Linked DNA regions of Homo sapiens: all the other regions are linked to region 1. The links are contacts of gene promoters, found by promoter capture Hi-C in human tissues and cell types (Jung and others, 2019). All regions are on one chromosome and are shown on one strand. Each heading gives the region's core, a stretch centred on a gene start or on the middle of the fragment in contact. The rest is flanking DNA. Distances are from core to core; before and after follow the strand shown.

Region 1 (4,019 bases), core at 527-3,026:
GTTACAATGAAGAGGCTAACAGAAAAATCCATCATCTATTGCATGTAATTGTATAGGCCTAAGAAGGGCATGGTCTACACTATAGCTTCTGAATCCTGGGCTGTACCGGCATCGTCTAAGGCTAAGGTATTGTCTGCCTGACTGCCAGAATCTGTAGTGACAGCCCCACAACATGGCCAGCCACACACAGAGTGACACTGATGGTGCCCTTGTGTCCAGGCTTCAAGCAGATGAGATGCCAACATGTTTGTCCTTCAAGTGACCTCCACTAGGGGGCCAGGACCCATGAATATCTATTTGGAGTTCTACCCTGAGGGGTAAGGAATATTTTCTCACTTCATCTTGATCCTACCTGGATGCTTTTGCTATCATCACTGGCTCACAGTCTTGCTTACTTTCTAGCCCTGAGAGTTTAGGATAACCTGCTAAGCAGGTGTATTTGAAATGGGGGTATTAAAATAAACTCTTGGGAAAGTATTTTTAAAAAGACATATGCAGTCTTGTCCTAGAGATATATATTTGTACATTAGACTCATATTCCTGACATTATTCTGGAAAGGTGAGGTTATCTTATACACATTTATTGTCACAAATACTGAACTAATAGCCCTCTTTTATCACTCAGAAGGAACATGCTGGAAATAGTCTATCTCCAAAAAAATCTGGCTTTAAAAAGGATGAATTTAAGCCACACCAATTCATGTTAAATTGCCAGTAGATGGAAACTATGTTACCACAACTCACTGAATTGCTAACTTTTCTGTGAAAGAATTAAAACGAGGTTTGTATTTTCTGTTTCCATGTGACCATGATTCCTTACTCTTAATAACTGTGAAATTGAGTTAGAAGTAAAATGTGACAGGCGGGAAGCCTCCAGTACACACAGTAGGGAGTGACTCTTCTCTCCACCTGCTCTAGGATGCCAGGATCTCACTGGTGAGAAGATTCACCCTCTTCTCCTGCAACTTAAAGGGAAAAATGTAAAATCCAAATTCTGGTTTGGTAAGCTGGGTACAAACCATTGTCTATTAGATTATCCTCAATCAATGCTGTCCCTAAACCCTTCTTTCCACTAAAGATGAATGGGGGAGATGCTTATTTATTCCTTTATAGATCTGCAAAACATCCATCATAACCTCTATATGTTTGTAGCATCCAACACTTAAGCTACTTCTCCTTGAAAATCTTTTTTTTTCTTTTTTTTCTCTTTTTTTTTTTTTGAGATGGAATCTCACTCTGTTACCCAGGCTGGAGTGCAGTGGCATGATCTCAGTTCACTGCAACCTCCGCCTCCCAGGTTCAAGCAATTCTCCTGCCTCAGCCACCCAAGTAGCTGGGACTACAGTTATGCACTACCATGCCCAGCTAATTTTTGTAATTTTAGTAGAGATGGGGTTTCACCATATTAGCCAGGCTGGTCTTGAACTCCTGACCTCAGGCAGTCCACCTGCTCAGCATCCCAAAGTTCTGGGATGACAGGTGTGAGCCACCACGGCCAGCCTGAACATCCTTTTTGCTATTCAAAACAGATAAGGGAAAGAGAGGCCTGATTAGCACCCCAAGTCCAAGGAAACAGAGAAGAGGAGCCTGAACAGTTACTCACAGATAGAGGAGTATCAGGCTGACAGCCAGGAGAAGCCAGGTTTCCACGGCCAAGTTTGGGATGAGATCCATCACTACTTTCCTTCCTTATCTCTCTCCTCTGAGTCTTTTTTTCAGCAGCGTGCTGCTGTTTGCTGGGCTGTGTGTGTGGAGCTTTCCTGCCCTGCACAGCAGTGATTCAGTGAGGCTGTTGGATTGTTTATATGCTGGAGAAGGAGGCAGGGCTGGAGCTGCAGCCAGTAGCAGGGCCCCCGTGCTCTGCCTGCAGTCGGAAGAGGCTTCTCCACCTCGGCAGTTGGCAAATAATCACACACACACCACTCACTGACCTCCATTGAGTTAATATTCTATGTAGAATCATACACAACTCAATCAATGTTACTGGGGAGTCCAAGGGTTCTGGGTTCTTATCACAAACTCAAGTGGAGCCATTGGCATAAAATCTATTAACTCTCCTCTTGTCTCTATGGCTGTCCTCATTCCAGAATACTTGAAACTCATCCCAACAAGCCATGCCTACAGATCTTTACCTATGCCTGGAGTGTGCCTGTGCCCCCTAGAAGACTCCTACACATCCTTTCATACCCAGCCAGACAGAGCCTTCTCTTAGAGTCTTTCCTCACCAACCCCCTCACACAGAAGTAACCATTTCCTCCCCTGGGCACTTTCCATCCCCTTCATGCAGTTCTATTGTCTTCTTTCCTCTTTACCACCATTGTGTGTTTCCAGGCCTGTTTCCCTTAGCAGAGGTGAGCTCCTCAAGGGCATAGTCTGGTCTTACTCACTCTCATGGCTCTGGTCCCTATCAGGGTGCTGTACACACAGTGGGGACCAGAAAGGCTGGTGGAGTTGACTTGGCTGAGATTGCTGGGCCCCTGTGTGTCACTTCCTCTGACTTTCTGGTGACCACTCCATCTTCTTAGGTCATTAATACAGCCAGAGCTCTTGGCTGTGCCTCAGCTGCTGTCTCTGCACTTTCAGATTTGTCCTCTGTGATTCTGTTGGCAAGAGGACCCCTAAAAAAGAGACATGGCATGGATGAGATGGAGCTGATGGCTTAGTGGAATAGCATCAATTTGTGCTTCTTCCTCTGTAGCTTTCAAAAGTCCTGCCGTAGATAGAAAGTTAGACAGGTTCTTTGCCAAAGAGTGGCCCCTTCTCTCTGGAAATACTGCATGTCTGGAAACAGTAGGGGAGAAAGAAGAGAAGAGAACAGCTGCCCAGATGGCCAGGTTGACCCAAACCACCTCAGCCAGCAACAATGGGGCAGTGGTCACTGCAGGTCACACAGCATCAAGGACTCCAATGAGGTGGTCCCAGCCTCTTGAGGGTGGAATTGGAATTCAAAGCAAATGGCTTCCTTTTTGACAAGTGGAGGATTTTCTAATGGGAGGAGAGCAGGTGCCAGGAGCTGGTAGAGATGAGGCCTGTAATAACAGTTGCTGCCACCTGTGAGCCCTGTGACCCATTCCTGATGGGAGAGATCTCAGTGATGAGGGTGTGAAAATTATATCAGCTCATTATCATCACTCACACCCAAGTTCTGTGTCTGCTTGGCCTGAGAAATGGATTCCATGACAAACAAAATCTCAGAGTTGTTAAAACTCAGTAGAAACAGATGATGTTTAAGCTGTGCTTGTTCACTTCCTTCTCTCTTTATTCTTTCTCAGGTTCAGCACTCCTGCAGAAACTGATACTCACCCCAGAAAGACACCTTTTCCCATCCCTCTGGCCCCTAAGCCTCCAGGGCTGCTCGGCACCTGGCCTCAGCAGGTGAACATCATGCCAGATTCCTTGTCAGATTCAAGGCCAAGTGGGTGAATGTCATGTGCAGTGTTGTGCCAGGTATGTGCCGGGAGCCACATGTTCCTTGGGGACAGCCTAGTGAAGCAGGAGACAAATAAACATGCTTGGATGGAGGTATGCATGTGCTGTAACTCTGGAATCCCTGGAATAATGGAGCCCTACAGAGAGGTACCTAAGAAAAGAAGTGACAGCGTCAAAGCAACAAAGGACAGACACGGGTAGGTGGGTGACAATCCCCAGGAGAAGTAGGATAAAAGTCCAGGGAATTCTGGTACATTTCTGTCTCCTTTCAGTGGCTTCGCTGAGCACATTAAATAGGGCCATGCTACTATCCCCAGTTTACAGATGTAGAAACTGAGGCTCAGTGACTGCAAGTAGCTTCCCAACTGATACTGATCACAATAAAATATTATAAAAAGTTAACAGGAAGGGAGATATTAGGTCCTCTGCTGCTCTGGTGCACCTGCCATTCCTTGCTAAGCATCACTATGGCAAATAGTAAGACTCAAGGCTGCAACCAGAAATTGGTTGAGATTCGTGTTCCTGTCTCAAGGGTTACTCCCAGTGGCACCCCCTGGGTTTTCTAGAACAAAGGACTCCATCTCAGCAGG
Region 2 (4,019 bases), core at 581-3,080, 130 kb after region 1:
AATTGTTCGAGAAAGACAGGATGGGGCTGCCCGGAGGGTTCCTATCCTGTTTACAACTCTCAGTAGCACTGAAATTGTGTGCCCTGTCCAGTTATAAAGTTCTTTTGTCATATTTGGGTTACAAAAGAACTAGTTTATCCCCAAACTATTTATAGGGTTTTTATATAACATAGTGTTACTCTCCACATTTTTTTTTTGCATGGAGTCTTGCTTCGTCGCCCAGGCTGGACTGCAGTGGGGTGATCTCGGCTCACTGCTACCTCCGCCTCCAGGGTTCAAGTGATTCTCGTGCCTCAGCCACCTGAGTAGCTGGGATTACAGGCGTGCGCTACTATGCCCGGCTAATTTTTATAGTTTTAGTAGACACAGGGTTTCACCATGTTGGCCAGGCTGGTCTCAAACTCCTGACCTCAAGTGATCCACCCACCTTGGCCTCCCAAAGTGTTGGGATTATAGGCATGAGCCACCATGCCTGGCCTAAACAGGACTTTTCCATTTTAAATGCTTGTATGAAATAGAGGATTTGCTTTTTACATTTTCTTTTTCCTTGGTACAGATGCATAGCCTCTCTTTGGAAAGGTGACACTGGCTTTGGCATATTTTAGGTGATTCAAATGGCCATCGTCTATTAGTCATGTTTGTTCTCCCAAGAAAGAAAAAACACGAAATGGTAATGTCAAGGATTTCAGTCTCTGTGTAAGTGATTGTGCCAAATTCATAACTCCTCCACACATCTCAATGGGCCATCGAGCACATCACTGGGTATGGAGAATTATTAAAATAATTTATAAATGCAACAATCTTTTACCAGAATGAATTATTCTCTGGAGCTCCTAACACTTCAATAGTACTGCATGGACTAAGTTGAAAGTTAATTCCCAATCTCAATTTATCCAAATCTGTTTCTTTCTTCCCAGGCACCTGTCACCTACGATGCCCTGGTACAGATGGAGTACCTTGACATGGTGGTGAATGAAACGCTCAGATTATTCCCAGTTGTTAGTAGAGTTACGAGAGTCTGCAAGAAAGATATTGAAATCAATGGAGTGTTCATTCCCAAAGGGTTAGCAGTGATGGTTCCAATCTATGCTCTTCACCATGACCCAAAGTACTGGACAGAGCCTGAGAAGTTCTGCCCTGAAAGGTACAAGGCCCCTGGGAAAGGAGCCTTCCCTCAACCAGCCTGATTCAAGTATATTCTGCCTCTCTCGATGCACATGGCAATCATTTGAATATGTGCCTTTTCATTTTGGAAGTTTTTTATTACAAAATGATAACTGTTAAACTTTACAAACCATAGATTAAGAAACACCTTATAACAACCCTCATTAACTATGTAATGCCTGTCTTGTAGGCATTTTTCTATGCATAGACATTTTTAAAAACTAGTATACTATCACATTTTATTTGAGTTTGAACTGCTGCTTACTTCATTTCAAAGTAAACCATTACCTATCTACTATCTTACGTTACTACATATTTCTATATGCATAAGCTATAATTCATTTCACCATAATGTTATTTTGAGTATATAAGCTTGTTATTCATTTCAGTTTTTCTTTGCTGTGCCCTTTAGCTCTCTGAATTTAGCACCACGTTTAGGACATGTTTCCACATTCCTTTTTCTTTCAACATTGCTTGCTGTTTTCCGTAATGTAACTGTGAAAGTGCAGGCTGAGATCCTGAGACATCCTCATCCCTGATGGTTTAAGCCACTTCATTGAGGACAGAGGGAAGCAGAGGTTCTCCTGGTCCTGTTTGTGTCTGCAGTCCTGTGCCGGCTCCCTTGTACTCTCAGTTGTTGATGACTCTTCCAAAGCAAAGTCACCTGCTTTCTAGACTTCTCAGAAGTTCTTCCTTGGAAGTGTTGGGCATGATATTCTGGGAATTCAGAGCCAAGGTCAAGCTTTGGGCACAATTTGCACTCTGGAAATAGTTGATATTTTCCCATTTTGGAAAGGAAAATTTGGAATGAACTTTGTAGGGCACTGGCTGGTGAGGCCTGGGATCTAGACTTTTATTGGCCCCTAACTATAAACTTCCCAATGGCAGGGACCTTGTCTTGTTAGGCATGCTGTCTCTACTGCTGGCACAGACTCTGTACATAATACTTGTTGGAAGAGCAAGTCAGAATTGACCAATTTCTCTGTTTTCTGGAGTAGAGGACTTCTGTGTTTCCTCCATCTTGGCACTTCCACCTCCTGTGGCTGCACCAACACAAAATCAGAGACCACTCATTGTACTTCTCTTTGCATCATTCAGTCACCAAACAGATAGTAAGTGGTTACCGTGTGTCAGGAACTGGGCCAGGCAGTGAGAAATCCATATACTAAAAAAAGTCTGTTGTGAAGAATGTTTGACATACACATAACTATATTCTATAGACACCAGGCTATAGAACAGTATTAATGCATCCCCCTGTGTTCATCACCTGTCTCAGTAGTCAATGCTGCATGTCAGCTTCCCTGTCCACACACCACCACAATCCTCTCTGTGACTACAATGTTATCTTGAAGAAATAACCTGTAAATATTTCAGAATTTTCTCTAAAATATAAGTAGTCTTTTAAAAACACATAACCACAAGGGCATTATCACTTTCCTCCATCAAAATTTTTTCACAATATAATCAAATATTGAGGAATCAAATTTGAATAAACATGGGTTTAACCTTCAAAAATTGTATAGCCGGCCAGGTGTGGTGGCTAACACCTGTAATCCCAACACTTTGGGAGGCCAAGGAGGTCCTCGCCTCCCAAAAGCCACCACACCCTGCATAACGTGTAGTTTTAATAGTTTTTATGTTTCATTAACTAGTTTTTATGTACTACTGTGAAAGTAGGTTCAGTAAGAAGAACAAGGACAGCATAGATCTTTACAGATACATACCTTTTGGAGCTGGACCCCGAAACTGCATTGGCATGAGGTTTGCTCTCACAAACATAAAACTTGCTGTCATTAGAGCACTGCAGAACTTCTCCTTCAAACCTTGTAAAGAGACTCAGGTCAGTAAACTTTCTTATAAATAATGTTTATTGGGAGTTTTTTAAACTGAGAAGTCTACATTTTTTAAAAATTATTGTTCATTTTTCAATAATTTGCTCTGTAGGACAAAGAATCTAATTGGAGCTATCCATAATGCTTAAAGATGAATCACTTCTGGAGTTCAAAATCTGTGGCTTTGTAAAGACAGAACTATAAAGATCATCTAATGTCAATATAGATTAGCATGGTATAATTATGTTCAGTCTCTGTGAACTTGAGCAAATTTTAAATTCAGTTTCATGTCAACTGTAAAGATGAGGAAGTCTTTTGCACAATCATGAAGTGCAATGATTACTTTGTCAGGACTTTCGAATGGTGCTCTCCTCCACTAGAACTCACTAGAACTTGCAGAAGCTTTCTCATGACAGTGTTTCTCAACCACTAGCTGTACATTGGAATCACTGGGGAGCTTCAAAAATTCATGATGCCTGGATCATCTCACAAATTCTAAACTAATTTGCCCAGAGTTGTGGCTTTAAAAGCTCTCCCATTGGTCCTCATGTGAAGCCAATGTTGGGAATCACTAATTTAAGGCATTTCTGCCAGATAGAAAAGATACTTACAGTCCAAGGCCATCCTGACCATTTGACCTTATCTTCCAGGAGCACTGCTTCGCTGCTTCATACAAGCTGTGCATCTTTTCAACCCAATAATAGCTCTATGAATGTTCTTCTTTTCCTTCTCATTATGTTCCTATCCCACAAGTCCTACATCAATTCCCCAAGCCACTCTAAGAAACCTTCCCCATCGAGTACAGGGCCAGTTATTCTTCTGCTTTGTTACTGTTTATTGCAGGCTGTTATCATCACCTAATCTTATACTTTTCATTAAACCACTCAGTTTTATTCTACAAGTCTTTTCTCTATTCTAAGAATTTCTCCTCTCTGCCCCATTTATGTTGTTTTGTTTTAATTCTTTCATAAAAGTCCAATAGTGTCTTGCAGAGGACATTATCCATTGCAGGCATTCCACACA
Region 3 (4,019 bases), core at 902-3,401, 88 kb before region 1:
GTATTTTTAGTAGAGATGGGGTTTCACCATGTTGGCCAGGATAGTCTCGATCTCCTGACCTCGTTATCTGCCCACCTCGGCTTCTGAAAGTGCTGGGATTACAGGCGTGAGCCACTATGCTCAGCTGATCTCGTTCCTTTTTATGGCTGCATAGTATCCCATGGTGTATATGTACCACATTTTCTTTATTCAGTCCGTAATTGATGGGTGTTTAGGTTAATTTCATATCTTTGCTATTGTGAGTAGTACTGCAGTGAACATATGTGTGCATGTGTCTTTATGATTTATATTCCTCTGGATATATACCCAGTAATGGGATTGCTGGGCCAAATGGTATTTCTGTCTTTAGATCTTTGAGGAATTGCCACACTATTTTCCATAATGGTTGAACTAATTCACACTCCCACCGACAGTGTATAAGTGTTTATTTTTCTCCACAACCTTGCCACACCTGTTATTTTTTGACTCTTTATTAATAGCCATTCTGACTGGTGTTAGATGGTATCTTATTGTGGTTTTGATTTGCACTTCTCTAGTAATCAGTGATGTTAAGCTTTTTTTTTATATGATTGTCGTCCACATGTATGTCTTCTTTTGAAAAATGTCTGTTCATGTCCATTGCCCATTTTTTAATTTTTTTTTCTTGTACATTTAAGTTCTTTATAGATGTTGGCTATTAGACCTTTGTTGGATGTATAGTTTGCATTTCTTTTCCCCAGTCTGTGTTCTTGGCACCTTTGTCAAAAATGAGTTCACTGTAGATGTGTAGATTTGTTACTGGGGTCTCTATTCTGTTCCATTGGTCTATGTGTCTGTTTTTATACCAGTACCAGGCTGTTTTGGTTACTATAGCTCTGTAGTATACTTTGAAGTCAGGTAAATGTGTTTCCTCCAGTTTTGTTCTTTTTGCTGATGTTAGCTTTGGCTCTTCTTGGTCTTTTGTGAATCCATACAAATTTTAGGATTAAAAAAATATTTCTGTGAAGAATGTCATTGGTATTTTGATAGGGATTGCATTGAATCCATATATTGCTTTGGGTATTGTGGGCATTTTTAACAATATTGATTCTTGAAATATATAAACATGGAATATCTTTCTATGTTTTTGTGTCCTCTTCAATTTCTTTCATCGGTGTTTTATAGTTTTCATTGTAGAGATCTTTCACTTCTTTGATTAAGTTAATTCCTAGGTATTTAATTTTATTTGTGGCTATTGATTTTATTTCAGATTGTTCCTTGCTGGCATATAGAAGTGCTACCAATTTTGTACGTTGATTTTGTATCCTGCAAATTTACTGAATTTGTTTATCAGTTCTAATAGTTCTTTGGTGGAGTCTTTAGGTTTTTAAAATATCATTTGGAAGTCATATGGAAATATCATTTAGAAATCATTTCCAAATACCATTTAGAAACCATTTGAGTGTTTTCTTACTTCCTGGCACAAAAAGTGTCCTGGGCTCATCTTGAACATTTTTAGTCCTAGCCCTGGCATCAGCTATTTCTCTAACGAGCTCTGGTTCCCTTCAGTGGAAAATGATATTCATAAGCCAAGATCTAGGCACTAAGTATACTCATTGCTATTGAAATGTCATTGTTATCTAGCCCTATCAGTGAAGTAGGGAATATATGTTTTATACACACACACACACACACACACACACACACACACACACACATGCATGCTCACACATACAAACACATATATTTACATCTAATTATCTATCAACTATCTATTATCTATCTATCATCTGTCTATCTATCCATCTATCTATCTAGAAAAGTATGAATGTACACTGATACATCCATTCCAATCTAACACCATAGGATTAATGCTAGCTTTCTCCCTTTCTGAATCTATGACTCTTTTCTGCAAAAGTGACACACCTAGCTTCCAGTATACTTTATTTACTTATGTGATCAATCCCTTCTATGTAGCCAACTCTCACCCATCCCTTCCCACTCAGGGATACCCTCCTCACCTCACGTGGGTTCTCCAGGCCCTATTTAGGCTCTGGCTGCTCTTGAAGGCCACACCTCTGTGTGGACCCCTTCTCTGATTGCTTGGGCTCCCGCTTCCAGGTCAGGCTGCCCCTCCATGTGGATGCCTTCCCCAGCACACTTGGAATCTGACTTGGAGCCACCATGACTCTCTTGTCCACCTTAATGTGTGGCTACCACATGGCTGCAACCCACCTAATGGCTTTAGTATTCAGAAAAGGAGGGAAAATGAAAGAATAAAAAAGGAAAATGAATAGTGCTTTTAGACATGCTGCCCAATCAACTGACGAATTGACAATTTTTTATTCAGTGTTCATTGCATTAAGACAATTGGGAGGTGAAGATGGAATGCAAGACGTATAAGAAAACATGTTTCCTGTGTTCCAGAAATGTCAGGGGAGATGTGGTAAAAATAATAAATCATAACTAATAATATGATAAGTGCTTCGTTGAGTGTTACAAAAAATATGTTCTTCAAAGAAGGCAGAATGAAACTATGAATATTTTCTCCAAACAATGGGCAAAGTCACAGCAGATTAACTCTCACCTATGTTAATAATCAAATTGGAATTCTGACAAAGGCCCCACACCAACAGTGATTACAATGATAAAAAATGTTTATTTGCTGGTTTTCAGTCATTCAGTTCTATAGATTTCTCTTTAGTGTGCAGGATGGCATCAGATAATATTTTTGTAAAGGGGATTTTATCACTTCGCTTAATATAAAACTTATAGAATATTACAAATAAAACGTGATATAAATGTCACTATTAGAGTCATCATGATAATTCTTATTTTTCTTAAAAGTTATGGATCAAATTGTTGAGAAATATTTATTCTCTGATGAGAGCTCAGGAGGAGTTGATAATGCTAACTAGAGGTGGGTAGAGGTAGTCCTATGAGAAGCAGAGAAGCTGAGTCTACCTATCTGTCACTTACCTGGTCACCTCCTTTATACTACATAATGCACAACACTCTACACAGACTCTGGGAGAGCTCAATGAATGTACAAAATCACCAACTACTCATGCAGTACATTAGATTAAGCCCATCTTTATTTCAAGGTTTTATTGACTAAGTTGAAATCTCTGGTGTTCTGGGGCACAGCTTTCTTGAAGACCAAAGTAGAAATCCTTAGAATAACTCATTCTCCACTTAGGGTTCCATCTCTTGAATCCACCTTTAGAACAATGGGTTTTTCTGGTTGAAGAAGTCCTTGCGTGTCTAATTTCAAGGGGATCTACAATAGTTAAACAAGCATATGGAGAATTAATAAATGAAGTGAAAGAAGAAAAGATGGAAGCAAAGTAGAAAAAATATGACAAAAATGCTTTGCAAGCATATAAAAACGACTCTTAACACCATGTATCTTGAACTCTTCATACTTAATCTATAAGCTGGGTAAATACTGGATAGTAAAAGCACTCACCATCCATCGTTTAACAAAATATTTATGGAGCACTGACTCTGTGCCAGGCCTGAGACAAATTCTTGTGGACTCGTGTTTTTTTTTTTTTATTTAAATCTTAAGTTAAAAGGATGAGTTTTAAAAATTAAATCCAGATTAGTAGGTATTATGGCAAACTATTTTGGAAGTGCTATATAAAGTTAAATTTTTATAGGTTAAAACTTGCAAGGTAATCCTGAGTAGCTGTTGTACAGTTTAATTATGTGGGCAGTTTTCAACTTCCAGAGTCTAGTAACCCTTCCCAGTTGAACCCATCAAGTGCAATGATGGGAAATGTCTTCAGAAAGAATTATTCTTTTCTTTTTAACATCTCCTCTTGGCTTCCAAGCGTAGTGCAAACGGGGAATTTCTCAAGTTGTACAGTGTTTTGACTCATACTTCTAGCACTATTGTCACTGAGTCACCCCTTCACTGTTGGGGGAGCCACCAACAGAGTAACATTCTGATCTCAGTTCAGTGAGGGGAAAGCAAATTGCCATGGATACAAAGAAGTGCCAGCCTGAGATGCCTGAGAGCTTGCCAGGGAATATCTTCCCTGTCCCAGGTGTGCCAG

What was found. The method cuts DNA at HindIII sites, captures the fragments that hold promoters and counts their contacts. A contact is called where the count stands out against the background at its distance.
Region 2: a contact is called between a fragment that was not itself captured here and the fragment with the promoter of CYP3A7 in region 1, in 2 of the 25 tissues and cell types used here (dorsolateral prefrontal cortex and pancreas).
Region 3: a contact is called between a fragment that was not itself captured here and the fragment with the promoter of CYP3A7 in region 1, in 2 of the 25 tissues and cell types used here (mesendoderm cells and ovary).

Annotation. Positions count from the first base shown.
Region 1 is chr7:99,733,420-99,737,438 of GRCh38, forward strand. CYP3A7 (cytochrome P450 family 3 subfamily A member 7) reads right to left here and starts at 1,777. Exons shown (of 13, transcript NM_000765.5): 1 at 1,604-1,777. The coding sequence starts at 1,674. CYP3A7-CYP3A51P (CYP3A7-CYP3A51P readthrough) reads right to left here and starts at 1,777. Exons shown (of 15, transcript NM_001256497.3): 1 at 1,604-1,777. The coding sequence starts at 1,674. It also overlaps a transcript of ZSCAN25 not described here. RefSeq lists promoters at 1,674-4,019, 1,674-1,916 and enhancers at 1,922-1,952, 2,937-4,019, 3,234-3,245. The HindIII fragment of the contact is 8,535 bases long and covers 1-4,019 here.
Region 2 is chr7:99,860,696-99,864,714 of GRCh38, forward strand. CYP3A43 (cytochrome P450 family 3 subfamily A member 43) reads left to right here. Exons shown (of 13, transcript NM_057095.3): 11 at 918-1,144; 12 at 2,842-3,004. Among named protein-coding and RNA genes, the nearest start is that of OR2AE1, 14 kb to the right of the region's middle. The HindIII fragment of the contact is 4,373 bases long and covers 1-4,017 here.
Region 3 is chr7:99,645,163-99,649,181 of GRCh38, forward strand. CYP3A5 (cytochrome P450 family 3 subfamily A member 5) reads right to left here. Exons shown (of 13, transcript NM_000777.5): 13 at 3,032-3,238. The coding sequence ends at 3,143. It also overlaps a transcript of ZSCAN25 not described here. Among named protein-coding and RNA genes, the nearest start is that of ZSCAN25, 30 kb to the left of the region's middle. The HindIII fragment of the contact is 7,540 bases long and covers 1-4,019 here.